Regions from separate parts of the Homo sapiens genome. Here all the other regions are linked to region 4. The links are contacts of gene promoters, found by promoter capture Hi-C in blood cells and fetal thymus (Javierre and others, 2016). All regions are on one chromosome and are shown on one strand. The core of a region is centred on a gene start or on the middle of the fragment in contact, and the rest is flanking DNA. Distances in the headings are between cores, read along the strand shown.

Region 1 (3,021 bases), core at 303-2,802, 4.0 Mb before region 4:
TCTTGCTACCTACCTCTACCTTTTGTCTGCTTGTTTATAGATACTGGTTAGTTAAAGCTAAATCTGTCCTGAGTAGGGATTATCATGTTTAGCCGTTCTGCTTCTATTTCCCTCTCTAAACCTGATCATAAAAGAAGAATTAAATATACTGGAATATAACAGTGGGGGACAGTTTCTCAGGGCATAGAAATGTGGAGAAATAAATAGGACAACCTCGAATAGAGTAGGGTAGGGTAGGGTAGGGTAGGGTGGGGTGGGGTGGGGTGGGGTGGCGTGGCATGGCGTGGCGTGGCATGGCGTGGAATGGAATGGAATAGAATAGAATAGAATAGAATAGAATAGAATAGAATAGAATAGAATAGAATAGGATAGGATAGAATAGAATAGAATAGGATAGAATAGAATAGAATAGAATAGGCTTTCTATTCTGTGAGAGGTAGTGAGGAAAGAACTCTGGCTTTGGACCCAGTCAGGTCTGTCTTCGAAATGGGCCATTTATTAGCATAAGAATCTAGGTACATTAATCTCACTGAGCTTCATATTTTTTTCACCTGGAAAATGAATATAACATTCACTTTCTGGGATGTGAAAATTAATTTATCCAGACATTAAATATGCATTGAGAATCCACATGTGTCAGGCCCTGTCCTAGGCTCTAGGGATACAGCAATGAGCGAACCAGCAAAAGTGCCTGACTTCATGGAGCTTATGGTCTAATTTAGGGCGATAGACTACAAAAGTAAAAAAATCAAAATCTATGTTACATTACATGCTGATAAGTGCAATGGAGAAAAACAAAGTAACAAAGGGGGATAGAAAAGCCCCTTCTTGGCTGTGAGTTGCTTGAAATTAAAGATTGATCTTTCTCCTTTATCTCTAGCATTTATCACAGTGTCAGCTATACTAAGTGTTGCATGAATGTTTCTTGAGTGAAAGGAATGACTGAATAAAAACCAGTGTTGAAGAGAGAAGTTTATCTCATGAAATCATTGTAATACTGCTTACCTGGACATTTTTTAAAGCTTCCAGATAGGTAATTATTATGTCAGCAAGAATGGTGCCCTTTACTTCTCCTTGTTCTTGCTGGATTTTAAAGTGTTCTATTCTTACCACTGTTATATTTTTTCTTGGAAATCAGAATGCTTTTAATGTACCTTCTAAATGATATGTCCTTGATTTTAAAAAAACATTAACTACATGCACTTTTCAGGCTGTTGCTGAGTAATATAGAAAATAATTTGACAAATGATTCAGTATATCAATTTTTGTAATAAGGAGAACTGATATTCTATAGTGTCTGGAAAACTCGCATGTATATGCTACAAATAATAAAATCATGCTTTAGAACAATATTCAGTGTCAAGGGATAGTGTGCTTAACATGTAGCTAAATGGGATAAAAAACCAGTATGCACAGTGTCATACATATAAAATACAACAGACTTTGCATATGATTGTGGTTTTCTTCTTTGTGCTTTCCTATATATTTTATATCAAACCTGTATTATTTTGTTAATCATCTCCCCACATTCCTATTAAACCGAATATAAAATAGGGAAAATGTACATGTATGATAGCTTGATAGATTGAAATATTTATTTAAGGTCTGTAACATTTAGCAGGCGGCAGGGCTGACTAGAAGATAAAAGAATTAATCTGGAGCGGCCGGGTGTTGTGGCTCACGCCTGTAATCCCAGCATTTTGGGAGGCCGAGGCGGGCAGATCACCAGGTCAGGAGATCTAGACCATCCTGGCTAACATAGTGAAACTCCGTCTCTACTAAAAATACAAAAAAAAAAAAAAAAAATTAGCCGGTCTTGGTGGCGGGCGCCTGTAGTCCCAGCTACTCGGGAGGCTGAGGCAGGAGAATGGCATGAACCCGGGAGGCGGAGCTTGCAGTGAGGCGAGATCGCACCACTGCACTCCAGCCTGGGAGACAGTGTGAGACTCCGTCTCAAAAAAAAAAAAAAAATTAATCTAGAGTATTGGAAACAGCCTACCTCCCACGGCTATGTGATGAACAAATTACATAATATATGTAGAAATGCTGTATGAATCACTATTTGTGTAGTTACAAAGCTTAATCCCTTTGTCATCCTCTATAAACTCCATGAGGACAGGGAATTTGTTTACTAATATATCTTCATTAGCCATCACAAAACATGTGTTCAATAAACATTTGGCAAATATATAAATATTTTGTTTGGTAGCAAAAAATTATTTCACAGGAGAAAACTACCATTAAATGATTTGATGTCTCTACAGTTCCTTCAGGTTAAAATCTGAATTCCTGTCATTCAAGATTTACTCAATCTAGTTGACAATGTACTTTTCTGCCCCCCAAATATTCACACAACATCTCCTCAAACCACCCAAGGACACTATCTCCTGAACTATTGATGCCTTCCTCCTCTCTCTTAAGTCTTTTAAACGTCCAACTCAAATCCAGAATCTTCCTTTGATCTATCTTAACACATGCTTATTAGATGTCTCAAACTGCTAATTAAAAAAACAAAACTTTAAAAAATACTTTATTCATTTTTGCATTTCTGTCCCCAGGGACTAGGACAGTCCTTTGAATATGGTAAATATCCAATAAATACTTACTGATTTAATTATTTTTCACAACACATCATTAGCTTACAATTTTTATTACAATGAAAGTAAATCAATTTCCTAAAATTCTTCCCTTGCCCCATATCGAGGTGCAATTATTCAGTAATTAAAAAAATATAGCTCCAATAAATGCAGCTGGTCATAAAAATTATTTCAGTAATATCACAATCTACTAGAAGAACCAGGAACGAGTAGCTAATTTTCCAATTCCAGTTATCTATGTTACGGATTACGCTTTGTTATGACTGCAATTCCTTGGATTTCTCCCCTCTTCCGCCCCCGGGATCTTATCCAATTGATAAGGTTAAAATAATGGCTATTATCCTTCTGGCTTAAAAAGCCTAGTGCTCTTCGTTCCTTAAATCATTTCATGTGTAAATTCGGTGCTTAGGAAAGACTGTGATAC
Region 2 (2,797 bases), core at 42-2,541, 4.3 Mb before region 4:
ACAAGATTTCAGTAAGGAACTGGTCTGTTTTCTGGCATCTGTCAGAAAAAAATAGAAAAGAAAAAAGGACTTTTAGAGACTTCAGATTATAGCTAGAGTTTGAATGATTTGGTGGTGTACCACAAGCAATCAATATTCTCACAGAGGTCACCTTTATTAAATGCAGAATGTGCCAAACAGAAAGTAACTTCCCTTCATAAGGCTGAGAGATTCTCATTATTCTTGATCTCTTGAAGGCCAGGCAAGATGATAAATTATATATGATCTATATACAGTAGATGACGTGTTCTCAATATAGATGCACTCTTCTATCTAGCTGAGATTTATAGGCCTTTTGTATTAACATTGAAGTATATTTTATCCTACTAAATGTATTTTCAAGTCTAGTTGAAATCTTAACCTCTTTGCAGAAATTGTTAAATAATGGGAGTGTGTCTGTCAAACAACGTCGTTTCTTCTAAAGAGTGAAATAAGGGATCATAGTGGTGCTTTAGATTAAATAATCCAGATGTGGTTGAAAGTCTGATTTGCCTTATCAAGGATGCTCCTCCGAAGTGAATCTTAACGTATCCTTAAACTATTGTTGTTGTTGTTAATTCTGATACTGCCTTCTTGCTGTTTTCAGTGTTAAGATTTTATCTCATTTTTAAAAATGAGATTCTGATGTGAGTGGTTAGGTTTATTTCTACAATCCTTACATGGTAAAATAAAATGTTTATACCCTTGTAACTTTCCCCCACATTGTTCTGAAATTTTAATTACTATGTGAAATTCAAGTCTTAGAATCACAGCAAGTTCTTAAAATTATTGAGGGAGACAATAAAGTGAGTTTTTTGGGTTTTTGTTGTTGTTGTTGTTGTTGTTTGAGATGGAGTTTCGCTCTTGTTGCCCAGGCTGGAGTGCAGTGGCACGATCTCGGCTCACCACAACCTCCATCTCCCAGGTTCAAGGAATTCTCCTGCCTCAGGCTTCCGAATAGCTGGGATTACAGGCGTTCACCACCATGCCCGACTAATTTTGTATTTTTAGTAGAGATGGGGTTTCTCCATGTTGGTCAGACTGGTCTCGAACTCCTAACCTCAGGTTATCCGCCCACCTCGGCCTCCCAAAATGCTAGGATTACAGGCATTAGCCACTGTGCCCGGCCTTCAGTGACTTTTTAAGACACTGATTCAGTGTGTGCAGAAGTTTAAAATTATTTTTCATTTGCCTTTAAGAAGAATAACGTAATGATTGTGTGAGCCTCACTGTTTGCACAGCATCTGTGGACCTTCATATGGGTGGTACTAACCCCACAGCCCCAGCCTTAGTGTATTTTCAATCCATATCTAAACTATTACTTGCCTTAGACCCTTGATCTGCTAAAGAATTAGTAAAAATGTCAACATTTACATCCCTGAATGAGAAAGACTTGTGATACACTATCTCATTTAATCCCCAAAGTACCTTTTGAAATTGGCGTGGCAGTTATTATTATCCTGACTTTATGGAGGTATTTGAAACATAAAGAAGTTATGAGTTGAGCAAGATCAGCTAATAGCGGGTAAGGATGTAGACAGGCTCATTCATTGAGAAACATTTGTGAAGCCCGTATTCTCTGCCAGACACTGTGCTGGACGTGGGTTTATGATGCTAAGTTTGATATTCTTTCTATTCTGCTTAAGGCTCTTGATATACATGAATTTGTTTTGCTTTTCTTTGGCTACTTCATTTTTTTTAAATCCTTTTTTTTAAATAAGAGCAATTAGATGTTTCTTTAGGGAATTTACCTTGCTGCAGCTTGAATACTAAAAATCCAGTAGTTTGAAAGCACCAAACATCTGATTTGTGCTTAATTTAATAAAAAGACTTTATTATAATATTGGTTTAAATAATAGACGATTACTATTAGGTGGAAAATTACTGTGAGCCAGTTTATCATTGGCAGTCTGTTTTAGTATTTAACTAAAAATTTTATTTAAAACATGTATAAGTTACAACGGTATTTTATAAATTTTGTTAATGTGATGTTGTTGTTTAAGAATAGAAAATAAATTGTTTAGTCTTCCAGGTGGAAAAATATGTCCTAAGTGGAAAAGAAATACCTTTCTGTCTTTGATAGCTTATAGTCCAGCAAGCTGGGTGACCCACATTATTTTGATACTTGTTTTCCTTTAATATCTAGCTGACTCCTGAGTTCTCACAACGCTTGACCAATAAGATTCGGGAGCTTCTTCAGCAAATGGAGAGAGGCCTGAAATCAGCAGACCCTCGGGATGGCACCGGTTACACTGGCTGGGCAGGTATGAAGTGCTGACTGTGAGCTGGCATAAGCATTGTGCTTAAGAGCCAGAGCATTTTTCCGAGAGCTGTCTGTCTGAATGGTACACCCTTAAATGCTTCCTGCATCTGCATATGAGTAATTGCTTCTGGGAGAGTGCTGTGCCCTCAACCCAACCAACCATGGTATCTTCTGGGTTTTTAATAGTGCCCTGAATTTAGGGCATGGTAAGCATATTCATGTAATTCATGCCTGACATTTGGATGGCTGCTATACTTGTGAGGAGAAAAATTGATTTTCAATATTACATAGTTAATTTGCAGATGTAATTTCAGTGGGAAGAATTGGGAAGAGTTCCAAAATACAATGCCTGAAGCGGAGGTAATGAGGATTGATCTCAGGAATAAAATATGTCCAGAAGCATGTTTTAAAAAGTTAACCCGTAACAGGAATCCATACAGGAATCCATACAGGGTAAAGTATTACTTCCATGAACTAATCCTCCCATATGGTCATTGCTGTTTGGTTTGCAATTGC
Region 3 (3,042 bases), core at 160-2,659, 4.7 Mb after region 4:
ATACAAAAAGCCTTTAAGCTGTGGTTAGGTGATTGAGGTTTTTTGGTGAAGAGATAAATGTTGAGAGAAATGAAACTGGAGACTAGGCTGGGGCTGGATTAGGAAGATTTTACATGAGATGCCAAGGGGCTTAAACTTTATCCTAAGGAAGATGGGATGGAGGTGGTTTGTAGCAGTGGAAAAGCATTAGATTTGCATTTTAGAAAGACTAAGACTTGTAAAGGATAAATGAAAGGTAATAAGACCGGAGACAAGGTAACCAAGGTAGCTAGTGCCACAGGATGCTGAACTAACAGTTTTCCCAGAATATTGAAATGTCTAACTAAAACAGAGCCACTGTTAATATAACATTATAAAGGGCACAGCTAACCCTTAGGGTGTACATAAGAAGATAGGGAAAGAATTTGTATATAGCTGTTTGTACCCAGAGGCTGTCTTTATTTTGACATTTTGCTTTTCCTTGTATAGATCATAAAGCTTTATACAACTATCAGAATATTCAGATTTTTCCACTCTAAAAAGTGATCTTATGTATTTAATAGACACTTTTATGGTGCTGACACAGATTTAAGCCAAATTCTTTGACAACCTTTTGAAATACCTACTATTCATTTTAAACGTAAACATACTGAAGCACAGAGAGATTAAGTAGCTTGTCCAAGATCACATAGCTAACAGGCAGCAGAGTTAAGATTCAAACTCAGTCTGTCTTTAGAGTCTGTGTTCTTGGCTTTACACTGTGCTGTTGCTATATGATATTTATCTAGCTCTTTATTTGTGAAAAGAGGGCAGAGTAATACAAAAATAAGTATGTTTGCTGTAAGAGGCATGCAGTTTATCAGAGGAGATAAGGAACAGCTCTAAGGTTTTAAAAACTGTTTTAGAGAAGAGCAGAAAGTGTTCGGAGGCAATACCTCCTTCAAGTTGGGGTTTCTGGGAAGGCCTGTTGGGAAAAGTGGCATTGAGCTGGTGTGGGAAGCATGGCTAGAATTTGGATATGTAGAATGGGGAGAGGACATTAAAATTAGAAGAAATAGCATGGACAGAGTTACAGGACTGAGAATTTCCTGGTGTGTCTAGGAAGCTAGTAAATGCAGTTCTTTCTTTTGGCTGGAATATGTTGTGTGGTTGGGGAAGATGGAGAAGCTAGTTTGCAGGGAGGGGAAATGTCTGGGGAAGAGAATTCTCGGGGAGTGAGGGGCAAGAGAAGTTGTAAGGTTTCAAGCCTGAGTAATTGAGGCATATGCCAGATGTAGTTATCTTTTAGGAGAGGAAAAAGTTCATCTATCCCCAACTCATCAGTTAACAGGTCCTGTTTTCACTATCTCACAAACCCGTAAATCCTTCTTAAAATTTCCATTCACCTAGTTTATACCTTTATTAAAATAATCCATGCGTAAATGTGATAAAATTTTCTAATTATTTTTGTCTCTAATCTCTCCATTCCAAAATTTATCCTGCATCCTGCATTTACATTTATTTCTCTCAAATGTCACTTCTATTTAGAAATGTGTTCCCTGCAGGATCAAGTTCAGACTTCTTAATCTGAACTAGTCAAATTTAAATCTCCAAATACCTTCCCCATAATTCTTCCCACTCAAATTGGTCTGTATATGCTGCCAACCTGGCTCTGTCTGCTACTTGCTGTTGGATATTATCATTATTATTTTCTCCTACCAGATAGTCTCCTCACCTATCCAAATCTTTTCCTCCTTAGGGAGTCCACTTAAATCTTACATCCTGTGTGAAGCCAGACCACCTCAGCTAGAAAAGAGCTCTCTCCCGACAATTCTGTTGTAACACTCATCAAATATTTATTATCTGGTACTATCTTATTTTCTTAGATTTCTTAGCTCATTGGATATTAGATCTAATCCAGATCATTAGAGCTGTCCCTTTTGGAGCTTAGACTTCTTAAATCTTTAACCTCCCTTTGGGCAGAGGCTGTTGTATACTACTATTTATCTTTTTTTAGTACTTTTGGTTTAATTCAAGTGGCATTTGTTGAAAGCTGTTCAATGAACAGCTGTTTGACCAGTTGTTAATTGAGGTCATTGTATTGAAATTTTCTTTTTCAACTGGCTGCTTAATATTTATATATAAGTGATGTTCTAGCTTTATTCTTAGCTTTACTACTGACTCACATAACCTCTTGAAGATACCCTGTTTAACTACCCCGTATTGTGGTTTATTCATGCTAGAAAATGAGCGTACAAAGTCTGCTGGTGGTATAGCAGTGGAACGAATTCATTTTGTAAAGATCCTTGAGGTCCTTGGAGCTTATCTATATTTATTTGTCAGTGTTTGCCAAACTTTGAGTTCTTTCTTTTTAGAAAGCTTTTTGACAAGTCACAAAAAAGGAAGGAATGATTAAATAGAGTCTAATTTAAGAGTGTTATACTCTATTGTGTAACAATGGAGTTGATGAATTGTGCATGTTAATGGTGAAAGAATTCCCCCACCAGTTTAGCTAATAGTTCATTTCAACACCAATTATTTATGGAGTTGCTTGAGCTTCTGGCATATTATATTCCTCTTCTGATCAGCAAGGAGGAGAGAGAAAATGGCACCCTCTCTTTCCTTTCAAGAAAAAGTAAAGTAGCCTCCTCTGCCTACCTTTGTTCTCTAACTTGGCATCTAATTTGTTTCTTTCACACATATATTATAATTTTGTATATTATTACAAATATATTATTACAATTTATGTGAAATTATAGTGTGAAAGAAACAAATTAGATGCCGAGTTAGAGAACAAAGGTGGGCAGAGGAGGCTACTTTAGATCAAGTAGACTGGTAAGTTTTAAAATGAGACTTAAATGTGAGAAGGAGTTAGCATATAGAGAACAAGAGAGAAAGAGTATTCCAGGTACAGTGAACAACAGTTACAAAGGCCCAGAGTTAAGAGAGTGATGAAGAATTAAAAGAAGTAACAAAAGGTCTGTGTCTCTGTGACTGAGTATGAGCAAGGAGGAGAGTGGTACAAGATGAGGGAGGAGAAGCAGGCAGGGGCCAGACTAGGCCAGACCTCACAGACTGTGATGA
Region 4 (2,860 bases), core at 279-2,778:
CAGAGGTGGGCCCCCCAGGTCAAGGTCGAGGCACATTGGCAGGGCAGTGTGGGGAAAAGTTGAATTGCTGCTGTCCATGTTCTACCTGTTCTGTGAAAAAATGGAGGGCTTCAGTCTCTTGGCCTTCTAAGGTTACAGAAAAATTTAGCTTACAATATCCCAACAAAACTAAAGTAGCCTGGGTCCAGTTTTGTCATGTGAACATCCTGATAAACTTCGAGAGCAGTCTTATTCTTCAGCTCTATACAAAGATGATTTTACCTGGCCTTTTCCTTTTCGTAAGACTTGATGTGATTATACCAACGTAGGGCATGACACAAGTCGGCAGGCGGTGGGCTGGACACGGCTTCAAATACTGCCACATCTGCTTGTGATGGCACATACCTGCCAAGGACACAGAAACATTCACACACACCTTTGAAAAACAAACGCCAGCGAATAAATAATAAATACCGTATGCATCACATTAATTAGTGGGCACTAACCCCAGCAGGGTTGCTTTAATGCTTTTCTTTTCTTATTAGCTCCTTCAAATCAAACCATATGTTTGGGTCACCGCGCTATCCTGAGAAATGTCTGCCACTAAGTAGACCTCAAATACTGCAATGTCTGGCGTTGCTCTATCTACAGCTTAACATGTATTAACTGGGCAGCGATGCGGAAACACCTGGCTGAATTAAGTGTAAATAAAGCACATTTTAACCTTTCCTTGCTCGTGAACCGCTCCCCGGAGGCCGGGCTCGCCCCACACGAGGGCCTTGGGAGACGGCAACGGGGCGCTTTCCCCTCCCTCTCGAAAGGGCCCCGGGCCCGGCCTCCCTCCCTCCCGCGGCAGCCGACACGCTGCGCCACGTGGCCCCGGCCCCGGGCGGAGAAACCTCCCCGCCACCCCGACTCAGCCCGTCCGCTCACCCCTCGATGTAGCTCTTGTCCGCCAGGTAATCGTTGAGCACCTGGAGGCCGGCAGGGCTTTTCAGGTCTCCGAAACCCATGGTGTCGGCTGTATCCGAGAGCTGGGGAGCAGCAGAAAGAGAGCGCGCAAATTGTGGGCGCCCCACGCTGAAGAGAGGAAAAAGGACCCGAAGAGACCGGAAAATTCCTTATATAGAGACGGAGGCGTTTCCCTCCACCGCGCCGGACCGAAGGTTAAAGGTCAAAGTACTTTTGCATTCCCACTTCTCCACGTACGAATTGGGGGCCCTGAATTAAATGGCCCACAAATTGTCCATGGACCTTTCGTTGCGTTTGGAAGTAAATTAATAAAATAGGCATGTCTTAAGTTCGTACCTCCACGGCTCCCGAAGATGACGGGAACCAGCCCTAGAAGCGCCGGAGATGACCGAAGACGCCCGGCCTCGAGGCTGGGGCCACTTCCGGCGGAACTGCGGGTCCAAGTTGTCCTTCCCGCCTCCGGGCTGGGCCGACCTCAGCTCCGCCCTCTGGTCGGCTGACGGAAATTGCCGACAAACTTGTCGAATGCAAGGATTCTAGTCCCTCCGGGCTTTCCGTTCTCCAGGCCCGGCTGACAGAGTTAGCCGAGGCCGCCATATTGAATAAGCGACCCGGCCTCCTAGGGGGTCGTCGTGGTCCAGACAGTTTAGCAGAACAGCCTCCGCGGCTCCGGGGAGAAGGTGAGGTCTTGTATGGATGGGAAGGGTGAGGTGCGTCGGCCAGAGGCTTATTTATTGACGGGACTGTTTCCTTTGGCCCACGCGACGTAGTCTTCTGTTGTCCTTGACTGGGCGCCGCCTCCCGCCCCGCCGCCTCGGAAGCCCCTGAGAGCCGGCAGATGGGGGGCTTTTAGCCACGGTCTCTGGTCTGATGAAGCAGAAAAGAAGATGAGGATCAGGGGGTCCTCGGGAACGCTGTCACGAATGTAGGCTTGCAGGTGACCTTCCCTCTGCAGGGAAAATTCAGGACATTTCCCTCTCAGAGGAGGAGGCCGTTTTATTCCCCGGGAGAGGACCAGTGTCCGATGACTTAGGCCTTAAGACTAAGCCTTTCCCCCCAGATTTTTACACGCCTGATACAGTGCATGATTGTTTGGTCGCTGTTGTGTTAGCAATGGCTCACGCTTCTGTTTGTTGTCCTTGTTTGTTTGGTCCATTGACCACGTTGGACAGCATTTTTTTATTCCTTTAACTAACGGGAAATTGAGAAAAACGACTTTTGAAAAGTTAGCCCAGGATTGCATTGCAAATAACAAAACGTTGTTTACAGGTTATTGGGATCCAGTGCTTGAACTGTAAGGTCTTGGATCAGACACAACTCTGTTCACACACGAATTGACGGTATAGAAGTGTAACGTTAACTGTTTTTGATGAATAAACAAGTTATTTTTGTTTTGCGGAATATTCTTGTTTTCACCGACTTAAGGCTGCCAGAGCACCTGCACTTTTTAAATCCGGGAAAGTGGTCTCTACAAATTAACGACCAGAAATTAGAGATTCAGTTCACTTAACCGTTATTGAACATTTACTACGAGCCAGAAATGAGTCCGTAAAGAAGAATAAAATGGATGATATGCTGGGGGAATCGTAAATGTTAGATAGCCTGGTCAATGAAACTGAGAAAAGGCTTTTAAGCCAAGATTTGAAGGATAAGGAGGGGCCAGGGAAGAGCATTTCAGTCTGAGGTCACAGCCGGTGGCAAGAGGGGAGAGGCTGTGTGGGAATAGTGTGGAAGCTTGGTGACCTGTTAAGCTATTGAAGGCCGGAGGCGGTGGCTCACTCCTGTAATCCCACCACTTTGGGAGGCCGAGGCGGGCGGATCACGAGGCCAGGAGATCGAGACCATCCTGGCTAACACGGTGAAACCCTGTCTCTACTAAAAATACAAAAAATTAGCTGGGCGTGGTGGC
Region 5 (3,214 bases), core at 630-3,129, 3.9 Mb after region 4:
CATCCAACGGCGGTGGCCAGGGCCTTCCCTGCAGGTCTGCCTGCCGCTAGGCTGGGGTCGGGGATGGAGGCGCGGGGGAGGGGAGCGCGGAATGGGGGAGGGGGCGGCCGGTGGGGACTAGGCAGGCGAGGGAGAGGAGCCGACTACGGCCGGAGGTGCCGGGGCCTGCTGCGGGGCTCCCGGAGCCGCCCGCCCCTCTCCGGGCTCGCTCATCACCCCCGTACCCCACCGCCTTTGGTGGCGGCCTCCCTCATGTCGTCCCACTTCTTTCTCCCGGGTCGACTAGGTGCAGAGCCCCGCTTCCACCTCCCTGGGAGGGTCTCTGGAGAACCCGTCCGTCTCCTTCCAGAGGACTAATCGCAGAAGCAGGGCCCTAGGCCTTAGTTATGTAACGGGAGAGAATCCCTGACTGGGAGGCTCCGTGGCCCTGAGAAGCGGCTGGACTCTCCACTTTTTGCTTCTTCGTCGGGAGGGCGTGGGGCGGCGAGGGAGGGAGACGTCCGATGTTGTTGGGAATCCTGCCTCCGTTCGGATTGGAGCTAGGGCAAGGATGCCGCTGCTCTCCTCTGAGTCTTTTTCCGTGTGGGGGTGCAGAGCTGTCGCCTCTTTACTGTACTTTCCCGTTTCTTACTCGGGATTGGTTCATCCTAGCTCTCCAGTTGTAAGAGAGCATTCATAATAACCAAGAAAGAAAATAGAACTAAACTGCTAGAGCAACAAAAAGCATCTCACCTGGGCATTAACCTGAGGAAGTCTCATATTTTTGAGGAAAAGCATAGGAAAACTTTGTGTATGTAGAGTCGTTGCAGAATATTTGCAGAAAGTTGCCTGGTAAGGCAAAGTGCTCCAGCTCACTGTTAGTATCAATAATTTACTTGGGATTTGCACTTAATCAGGAGTGATCGATTTCCCCTTTTCTTCCTCATCCTGTTCTAATTAAACAACTTTATGGCTAGTTTTTAATTCATAAAGTTTTTGTCTGGTCTTTTGTTTGCTCAGACGACTTTGACTTTTTTTTTTTTTTGAGACGGAGTCTCGCTGTGTCGCCAGGCTGGAGTGCAGTGGTGCGATCTCCACTCACTGCACCCTCCCGCCTCCTGGGTTCAAGCAATTTTCGGGCCTCAGCCTCCCGAGTAGCTGGGATTACAGGCACTCACCACCAGGCACTCACCACCACACCTAGCTAATTTTTGTATTTTTAGTAGAGACGGGGTTTCACCATATTGGCCAGGCTGGTCTCGATCTCCTTACCTCGTGATCCGCCCACCTCGGCCTCCCAAAGTGCTGGGATTACGGGCGTGAGCCACCGCGCCCAGCCGACTTTGACTTTTTACATTATTTTTGGACTTTTACTCATTTAATGGTAGTTATTCAGAAAACTATTTTTCATTCAACTCCACGATGTACTTGAACTTTTAAATTTAACACACCTATTCCCTTGGCTTTTAACCCAGTTTTGTACCATTTCGTGAGAGCAAGTGAGGTTTTTGCAGATTGGTACTATTGTACAAAATGTACACTTAACATTTTAAAGCTTAACCATAATCTAGATGAATTTTGGATGGATCTACTTACTAATAATCTAGATTAATTCCCAAGTGGGCATTGTGTTTCCCTAGGTAGTTGTTTACTTGGTTACTAGGAAGAAAAGTATAGGCGTAAATGCTTAGTTTCGTCAGCCTTTTATTTTGTTTCCCAGAAGCGTCTAGGAAGCATTTTGAAATTTATTGTAGACTGATGGAAGAGCAACATAAAGAAATAATTATAAAATGTAGAATTTATTGCTCCATTTTGAAGTCAGGTTATTTAAGAGATACATAAAGAAATGAAGGACCTAGGATACAAATAGATTCTTTTATTTCATGTTCATACTAGGACATTATTTGTCTTTTTCACTGTCATTCTTTCATGAGTGTTCAATGGACGTTTCTAGAAACTAACATGACTTGTGATAAAACAAATTAAATGTGGAAGCAGATGTGAAAATCCAGCTGTTTAGCTGTTTTTATTAAGCCAGACATTAAAGAGATTTGCAAAAATGTGTAACAGTCCCACTCTTTCATTAATTTTGTTTTGAAAAATATTTTTAATAAAAATATATATTTGTTAACATATAACAGGTTTGTTGGTATTTTAAAATGAATTAATATTTAAGACATTTCTCAGTTTTCAGTGTTTAATACTGTAAACATCAATAGATGTAACCAACCTAACAAAAGCTTTATGGGATTCTAAATAAATTTAAGTGTAAGATTCCTGAGAACAAAAAGTTTGAGAACTGTTGCTGTAGGCTGATTGACCAACATCATTAGGACTCGCCGGGTGCAGTGGCTTAAGCCTGTAATCCCAGCACTTTGGGAGGTCAAGTTGGGTGGATCACGAGGTCAGGAGTTCTAGACCAGCCTGACTAACATGGTGAAACCCCGTCTCTACTAAAAATACAAAAAATAGCCAGGCGTGGTGGTGCGCACCTGTAATCCCAGCTACTCAGAAGGCTGAGGCAGGAGAACTGCTTAAACCCGGGAGGCGGAGGTTGCAGTAACTGGAGATCACTCCACTGCACTCCAGCCTGGGCGACAGAGTGAGACTCCGTTTAAAAAAAAAAAAAAGACTCAGTACATTGGCCGGGTGCAGCGCCTCACACCTGTAATCCTGGCACTTTGGGAGGCCTAAGTGGGGGAGGATTGCTTGAGCCCAGTTTGAGACCAGCCTGGGCAATATAGAGAGACGTCGTCTCTACAAAAAATAAAATTAGCCAGGCATGATGGCCTGTACCTGTAGTCCCAGCTACTCAGGAGGTTGATATGGGAGGATCACCTGAGCCTGCGAGGTCGAGGTTGCAGCAAGCCAAGATCATGCCACTGTACTTCAGCCTGGGCGATAGAGACCCTGACTCAAAACAAAGAAGACCCAGTACAAGTTCAGTGTTGAGTGCTAAAGACTTAAAAGAGTTATAAAGCTGAACCCTTAATCTTAAGAGGTTTATAAGTGAGAACAAGAATCTCCAAATCCTGTACTGTTTAATATCAGCATGAGACTAAACCACTGTCCTAAGAAGACAACCTTAATTTGAATCAAGTTATTTTAGAGTGATGTGTTTTCTGAGGCAGCTCTCAGAAGGTTATTGTCTGGTGTTAAAATAGTGAAATTGAGTAATAACAAGGTTAAAATCGGTGGACATTAAATACACACAAGACTTCAATTGCTGGGTCCT
Region 6 (2,960 bases), core at 305-2,804, 3.8 Mb before region 4:
TATTTCTGATGATTTCTAGAATATTCTGTAATATTCTAATGTGATAGATTATGAAATGGGATGATCTTATGCCATCTGCATTTTGATTTACAACATGCAATGAAAATGATAGTTGAAAAATAAATATCTAAAAGTCCACAGCTCTCTATATAGTATTTTTTTCTTCTTCTAAATGGCTGTATTGTTACTCAAAACAAAAATGGCTGCAGGCTTGTTATTTAGTCTCCCCAAAGTAATATTTTTCCTATTAATTATTTTTTTATGTAAATTGCTACTTGTATAGCCAACCTGAATTGATATTTTTTAAACTATAAAAATAAATATTTGCATGAGATGTATAATGTGAGTAATCTCAAAAAATTGCATTCTATTTTTAGATCATATCATTTGTTAATATTTCTATGAAAGCAGCAATGAATAGTATATATTTTTAACTGCTGAAGGCTTCTTGAATCATAAACAATGTGCAGTGAAATGGCTCTTTCCCCTTATTCCTCCCTGGTTTTGTGATTTTCACACAACTAAATCCTTTTAGCCATTGACTTTTAAGATGTTTATGAAACATCATGTGTATTGGCAGCAAAACCTATTCAGATTTGTGCCACCCATTAGAAGTAAAGTGCTATTTTGTAATTAATCTTTTTCAAGCAAAAGTATTGAACTTGTAGTAGAGAGATCACTTTCATGTCTTCTCTATACCTGCAGAGCTTACAAGATACAGAATTAAACATGAGACTCATCTAATACTGCATCCGTTTTCCCCAGCTCAGTGGGAGTAAAGGTGAACTGACTAGATAGTAGCGGGTTCTCCATGCCATTTTCCTCACTGATATGAAGGACAGTGTCTCCATGCTGTAGGAGGCTGGATGTCTCGAGGCCTGTGAAGTCATCAGGGTCAGAGAGTTGGGCAGAGAGTGGACTGTGTGCAGTAGCACCTTGTGCTTCTGTGTCCTCCTCCTTTTCTCCTTCTTCAGTGGGGAAGTTCTCACTCTGTGATCAAAAGGATCATAACATTATGGAAAGATAGGATGGGTACCAGAGAAGAACATCAAAAAATGTTGTTGTCTAGTGGTAATTGGAAAAGGAATCAGATGGCTAGTCCCAGTTCCAGCCTTTGTTATAGGTAGGACCTTACGTAGGCCTTTCCAACTTTCTAACCCTCAGTTTTTGAACATGTAACATGAACACAATTTTTTGTCTTGCTTATCTTGTAGACTGTGAGGATCAAATGAGATAATAATGCTTAGTGTTAAAATGTTTTTTAACCATTAAAGACTATACAAATGTATACAGTAACATTGCCCTTTAGTTTTCCTTAAATACCACATGAGAAGAATCTGACACTCTAAGAATTCATTTATAAAAATGAAAAGAAAAAATATACCAAAACAAGAAAAATATCAACAGGAAAAATAGCAAAACAATGAGGAAAAAGATGAAAACAAAAAGTTCCTTTCATCTTATAGGACATAGAGGTTCTATATTTAGAGGCTTTATCTAAACTGGTAACTTAATTTTTTTAAATTGAACTATCTTTCAGCTATCCTTTATCTGAATGCTTGGAAACACAAGTGCTTTGGATTCTGATTTTGGAATATTTGCATTATATACTTACCTGGTTGAGCATCCTTAATCCAAAAATCTGAAATCCAAAATGCTCCAATAAGCATTTTCTTTGAGCATGAACTTTGAATATTACATCAGCACTTACAAAGTTTCAAATTTTTCTGAAAAAAAGTTTCAGATTTTTGTATTAGGGATGCTCAACCTGTATAAACCTGTTTTAAAGAGCTGTTTTAGCTGCAAAGTATTTCCTCTTAGGTTTTTCATAGGTAAAAATAGCAAGGCTTTTCTTGGTCCTTCTTAAGCAGATATATGCCTGGCTATACTTTATATAGATTTTTCTCTTTCATGATGGCAGGAGCAGTATCTGTTTGGATAACAAAGCATTGCAGACCTGGACTTAATTATATGGAATAAATGTGCATATCCAAGTGGCTGCTAGAAGTAAGTACACAGGGAGCAAGCCTTGCCTGTTTCTCTAGTGCCCTCACCTGCTTGGGAGACACGCTGTGGAGATCCGCAACAACTATGGCGGGAGAAGATGTGAGGACTGGTTCGTCCATTGCTTCTGGTTTCCTAGAAGGGGCTGGGCTACAGCCCTGTAGTTGGCCTGTTGCAGGAAGCGCATCTGTTGGGGCAGCTGCTGGCTCTGGCTGAGCCTCAATGAAGGTCACAGATCGTTTCTGATCCGCTGCAGGTAGAGGTGAAACAGTAAATTGGGGAGGAGTTGGTGGAAACGGACCGTCAATGCTTAATAGTTGGTATTAACCAGTGTCTCCTGGGGATTTTTTAAAATAAAAACATTGCTGGTTTATTAATAAATGAGAGCACGTTTGAACATTTTGCGCATGTTTGATTTTATCTTCTTACAAAGAGTAAGACTTACGTAGAAAAATCATTTTCACGTAAATGGCCTAAAATAACATTTGTATAGAATATTAATTGAAGTTGATCATTCCTCATAACAACTGCCAACAGGACTTAAAAGTCCCTATTATTCATCATAGCTTTACCTTCAGTGAGACATACAGCAAACCCAGTCCTTGGCTTCAGTAAAGAAGCCACATCCTTTTATAGTCAAATTTCCCAGTATTAGTGGTTTACCTTGGGCTCTTCCATTTTTTATAGGTTCATGGGGGTACAGACAGGGACTGGGGAAGGCAAGAAGAAAAAAAAGACACTACAGTTTTCTGGGAAACTCCTTCCCTTATGTTAGCACCTCCCCAAAGGTGTGCTTATCTCCATCAGCTTGGTTTTTGTAAGCCTTCCTGGGTGAGTTGCATGGCATCATGTCAATGGTATAGTCAGAAGGGACACAGGAGGCCTCACCAGACGGCTTCGTTTTAGGTTGAATGCTCCTGCGAGTGGTTGACAGCCGAGCCCCTTGGCGATTTCTG
Region 7 (2,883 bases), core at 90-2,589, 3.9 Mb before region 4:
TAATTGAGAGGCAAGACTGCAAGAACAAATTTAGGGGGAAGGACATGTTGACTGCAAGAAACCTGATATTCATCCTAATTCTAAAGCTTGATTCATATAAACACATAAGGTGAAAATGGGCATGGCCTTCTTAAAGATCTTGATTTAAAACATAATAGCATTTCATAAGAAGGAGAGGGCAGCTTAAAACAAGCTAAACCAAGAAATAACACTGTGAAGAATCCTGTGTTTGATAGATGGTAGTGAGGAGAGGTTTTAAGTTTTTTATTTTGCTAGAGGAAGCACATTTCTGAAACAGCCAAGCTATATTTAAGAAAAAAATTCTAACATTTCAGAACAATTATGAAATACAATAAAGCCTTGAAAAAAAAAAGTCAGAAAAAGAAAGTATAAAGCTTGACTAATAAAGTCAAGATTAACGTTTGTATTTCTAATCCAGCAAAAGTAATTGTATGAGAACTTTTTTTTTTTTAATAGAGATGAGTTCTCACTGTTTCCCAGGCTGGTCTCGAACTTCTGGCCACAAGTGATCCTCTGACGCTGGCTTCCCGAAGTGCAGGGATTATAGGTATGGGCCACCACACCCGGCCTAAATTAGAACATATTTTAATAGGTAAAACTTTATTCTTAAAAAAATGTATTAAATCTGGTGTTTCTTATTCTTTGCATCATAAACAAGGAAAATTCAAGCCGGTTTAAAATACCTACTCCAGGCCGGGCGCGGTGGCTCACGCCTGTAACCCCAGCACTTTGGGAGGCCAAGGCGGGTGGATCACGAGGTCAGGAGATCGAGACCATCCTGGCTAACACGGTGAAACCCCATCTCTACTAAAAATACAAAAAAATTAGCTGGGCGTGGTGGCGGGCGCCTGTAATCCCAGCTACTCGAGAGGCTGAGGCAGAACAGCGTGAATCCAGGAGGCGGAGCTTGCAGTCAGCCGAGATCGCTCCACTGCACTCCAGCCTGGGCGACAGAGCGAGACTCCATCTCAAAAAAAAAACAAAAAACAAAAAAACCTACTCTATTCATTCCTTAAGTTACCAGACTGCTAGCTATGTCATCCTTACTCAACCTCTAGCATCCAGTAACCACTAGCAACCCTCAATGGAGAAGTTCTATGGTGTTCAGGGAGTCAATGGTTCAGCAAATCTGTGCATAGTTAACATTAGATCAGCAATTCCCAATCATTCTATCATCTATTATAATCATAATCTATTATTCATAAACTTGGTCAACAATATGCTGATTAAAAAGAATCTAAGGTCTATTAAATTCTAAGTTACATTAAAAAAACACTATATATGGCTAGGTGCGGTGGCTCAAGCCTGTAATCCTGGCACTTTGGGAGGCCAAGGCAAGTGGATTGCTTGAGCCCAGGAGTTTACACTCTTAAAAATTATTAAAGACCCCAAGAAACTTCTGTTGATATGGATTATATTTATAGATATTTAATGTATGAGAAATTCAAACTAAGACATTTTAAAGCATGTAATTTTTGGCGGGTTTGGTGGCTCACACCTATAATCTTAGGAGGCTGAGGAGGGAGGATGGCTTGAGCCCAGTTTGAGACCATCCTGGGCAACATAGTAAGACTCCTTCTCAACAACAACAGAATAATTAGCTAGGCATGGTAGTGTGCCCCTGCAGTCCCAGCTACTGGAGGGGAGAGGTGAGGTGGGAGGACTGCTGGAGCCCATCAAGACTGAGGCTTCAGTGAGGTATGAAGGCCACCACTGCACTCTAGCCTGGGTGACAGAGCAAGACTGTCTCAAAAAAAAAAAAAAAAAGGATAACTCTATTACCTATTAATTAAGAGTGGTATTATTTGTTTTACATTTTTGCAAGTTTTCAGTGTCTGGCTTAACAGAAGACACCTATATTCTCACATCTGTTCTGTATCTAATCTGTTGTAATACAGATGTTCTGTAACTTACAATGGGGTTACATCCCAATTAACTCAATCTAAATTGAAAATACTGTTATCTCTAACTGCATTTAATATACCTAACACACCAAACATCATAGCTTAGCCTAGCCTATCTTAAATGTGCTGGGTGGTAATTTTATAAAGGTTAGCTGCAGTGTGCACTCTGTAAACCCTATCAATGAGCTTTTCATTCTTTGTTACATTAAAACCCATTGTTTGTCTTGTATTTTGAATGGGTCTTTTAAGTACTGATTTACTGAGTTACACACATCTTACAAATAGTGACAGATTTCATTCCATAGTACCCCAAAATCACATTTGGTAAAATAACTACAGATCTCATCAGAAAAGCTTGTTAACTGTTGGGACGCTATCAAACCCAGAGTGGTAAGATACACAAGTTTTTTAAAATTCTAATTTTGGGAACAAAAACTGACAAGGTATCTTTCCTTGAAGAGACAGCCTCATTTAGTTAATATTTTTTAAATGTCATTAAAATAGCCAGGTCTGAAAAACCATAGTTGATCTGTCAGTTGTTCTTTCAAACAAACATAGTGTTCTGGAGGAAAGCAGCTAGTTCAGATCACACCTCTATGGTGCAAGTGGTTTTCCTTGAGAAAACCATTATGTTCCAGTATGCAGCAATGCAGCACAAGCACTTTATATGCACTTCCTACTTTGCCACACAAAATATTAAAAAGGCATGTATTCAGGGACCAAGATTTATTAATTTCTACTGCTTCATCAAGGATATTTATTGCAAATGCATGATGATGAAGAATAACTCCTGATACAGTCCCTGCCTTGAGTTGGTTAAGGCACCAGCAAACTAACTCATCAATGTTTTTGTACCATCAGTAGAAATAATGGCAAATAATTTCTTAGGATTATGAAAATAGTTTTGATATACTCTCATGGATGACCCGAAAGGGTCTTAAGGATTTGTGTGGGTCCT

Evidence for each region. Contacts are between HindIII fragments. The CHiCAGO score rates a contact against its expected background, and 5 or more counts as called.
Region 1: a contact is called between a fragment that was not itself captured here and the fragment with the promoter of NDUFS1 in region 4, in 1 of 17 cell types (monocytes). The highest score is 6.7, in monocytes.
Region 2: a contact is called between a fragment that was not itself captured here and the fragment with the promoter of NDUFS1 in region 4, in 1 of 17 cell types (monocytes). The highest score is 5.2, in monocytes.
Region 3: a fragment that was not itself captured here is called in contact with the fragment with the promoter of NDUFS1 in region 4 in 1 of 17 cell types (total CD8 T cells); the score reaches 5.8 in total CD8 T cells.
Region 5: a contact is called between a fragment that was not itself captured here and the fragment with the promoter of NDUFS1 in region 4, in 3 of 17 cell types (total CD8 T cells, monocytes and naive CD8 T cells). The highest score is 11.1, in total CD8 T cells.
Region 6: a fragment that was not itself captured here is called in contact with the fragment with the promoter of NDUFS1 in region 4 in 2 of 17 cell types (neutrophils and total B cells); the score reaches 9.3 in neutrophils.
Region 7: a contact is called between a fragment that was not itself captured here and the fragment with the promoter of NDUFS1 in region 4, in 1 of 17 cell types (M2 macrophages). The highest score is 6.8, in M2 macrophages.

Annotation. Positions count from the first base shown.
Region 1 is chr2:210,172,267-210,175,287 of GRCh38, reverse strand. It overlaps a transcript of KANSL1L not described here. Among named protein-coding and RNA genes, the nearest start is that of KANSL1L, 2.4 kb to the right of the region's middle. RefSeq lists an enhancer at 2,950-3,021. The HindIII fragment of the contact is 1,056 bases long and covers 1,025-2,080 here.
Region 2 is chr2:210,471,444-210,474,240 of GRCh38, reverse strand. It overlaps LANCL1 (LanC like glutathione S-transferase 1), which reads left to right. Exons shown (of 10, transcript NM_006055.3): 3 at 2,165-2,282. Among named protein-coding and RNA genes, the nearest start is that of LANCL1, 3.9 kb to the left of the region's middle. The HindIII fragment of the contact is 4,098 bases long and covers 1-2,797 here.
Region 3 is chr2:201,444,293-201,447,334 of GRCh38, reverse strand. All of the region lies in intron 1 of TRAK2 (trafficking kinesin protein 2), which reads left to right. Among named protein-coding and RNA genes, the nearest start is that of TRAK2, 5.6 kb to the left of the region's middle. The HindIII fragment of the contact is 1,860 bases long and covers 480-2,339 here.
Region 4 is chr2:206,158,112-206,160,971 of GRCh38, reverse strand. It overlaps NDUFS1 (NADH:ubiquinone oxidoreductase core subunit S1), which reads left to right and starts at 1,528. Exons shown (of 19, transcript NM_005006.7): 1 at 1,528-1,631. EEF1B2 (eukaryotic translation elongation factor 1 beta 2) reads right to left here and starts at 1,077. Exons shown (of 6, transcript NM_001959.4): 1 at 913-1,077; 2 at 262-384. The coding sequence starts at 992. RefSeq lists a silencer at 741-810 and enhancers at 1,071-1,330, 1,441-1,850. The HindIII fragment of the contact is 3,079 bases long and covers 1-2,687 here.
Region 5 is chr2:202,235,210-202,238,423 of GRCh38, reverse strand. All of the region lies in intron 1 of SUMO1 (small ubiquitin like modifier 1), which reads left to right. Among named protein-coding and RNA genes, the nearest start is that of SUMO1, 1.8 kb to the left of the region's middle. RefSeq lists a silencer at 173-362. The HindIII fragment of the contact is 685 bases long and covers 1,537-2,221 here.
Region 6 is chr2:209,993,359-209,996,318 of GRCh38, reverse strand. It overlaps UNC80 (unc-80 subunit of NALCN channel complex), which reads right to left. Exons shown (of 65, transcript NM_001371986.1): 63 at 2,893-2,960; 64 at 2,055-2,254; 65 at 1-990. The coding sequence ends at 724. Among named protein-coding and RNA genes, the nearest start is that of RPE, 7.8 kb to the left of the region's middle. The HindIII fragment of the contact is 8,415 bases long and covers 1-2,960 here.
Region 7 is chr2:210,012,218-210,015,100 of GRCh38, reverse strand. All of the region lies in intron 2 of RPE (ribulose-5-phosphate-3-epimerase), which reads right to left. Among named protein-coding and RNA genes, the nearest start is that of RPE, 11 kb to the right of the region's middle. The HindIII fragment of the contact is 1,884 bases long and covers 398-2,281 here.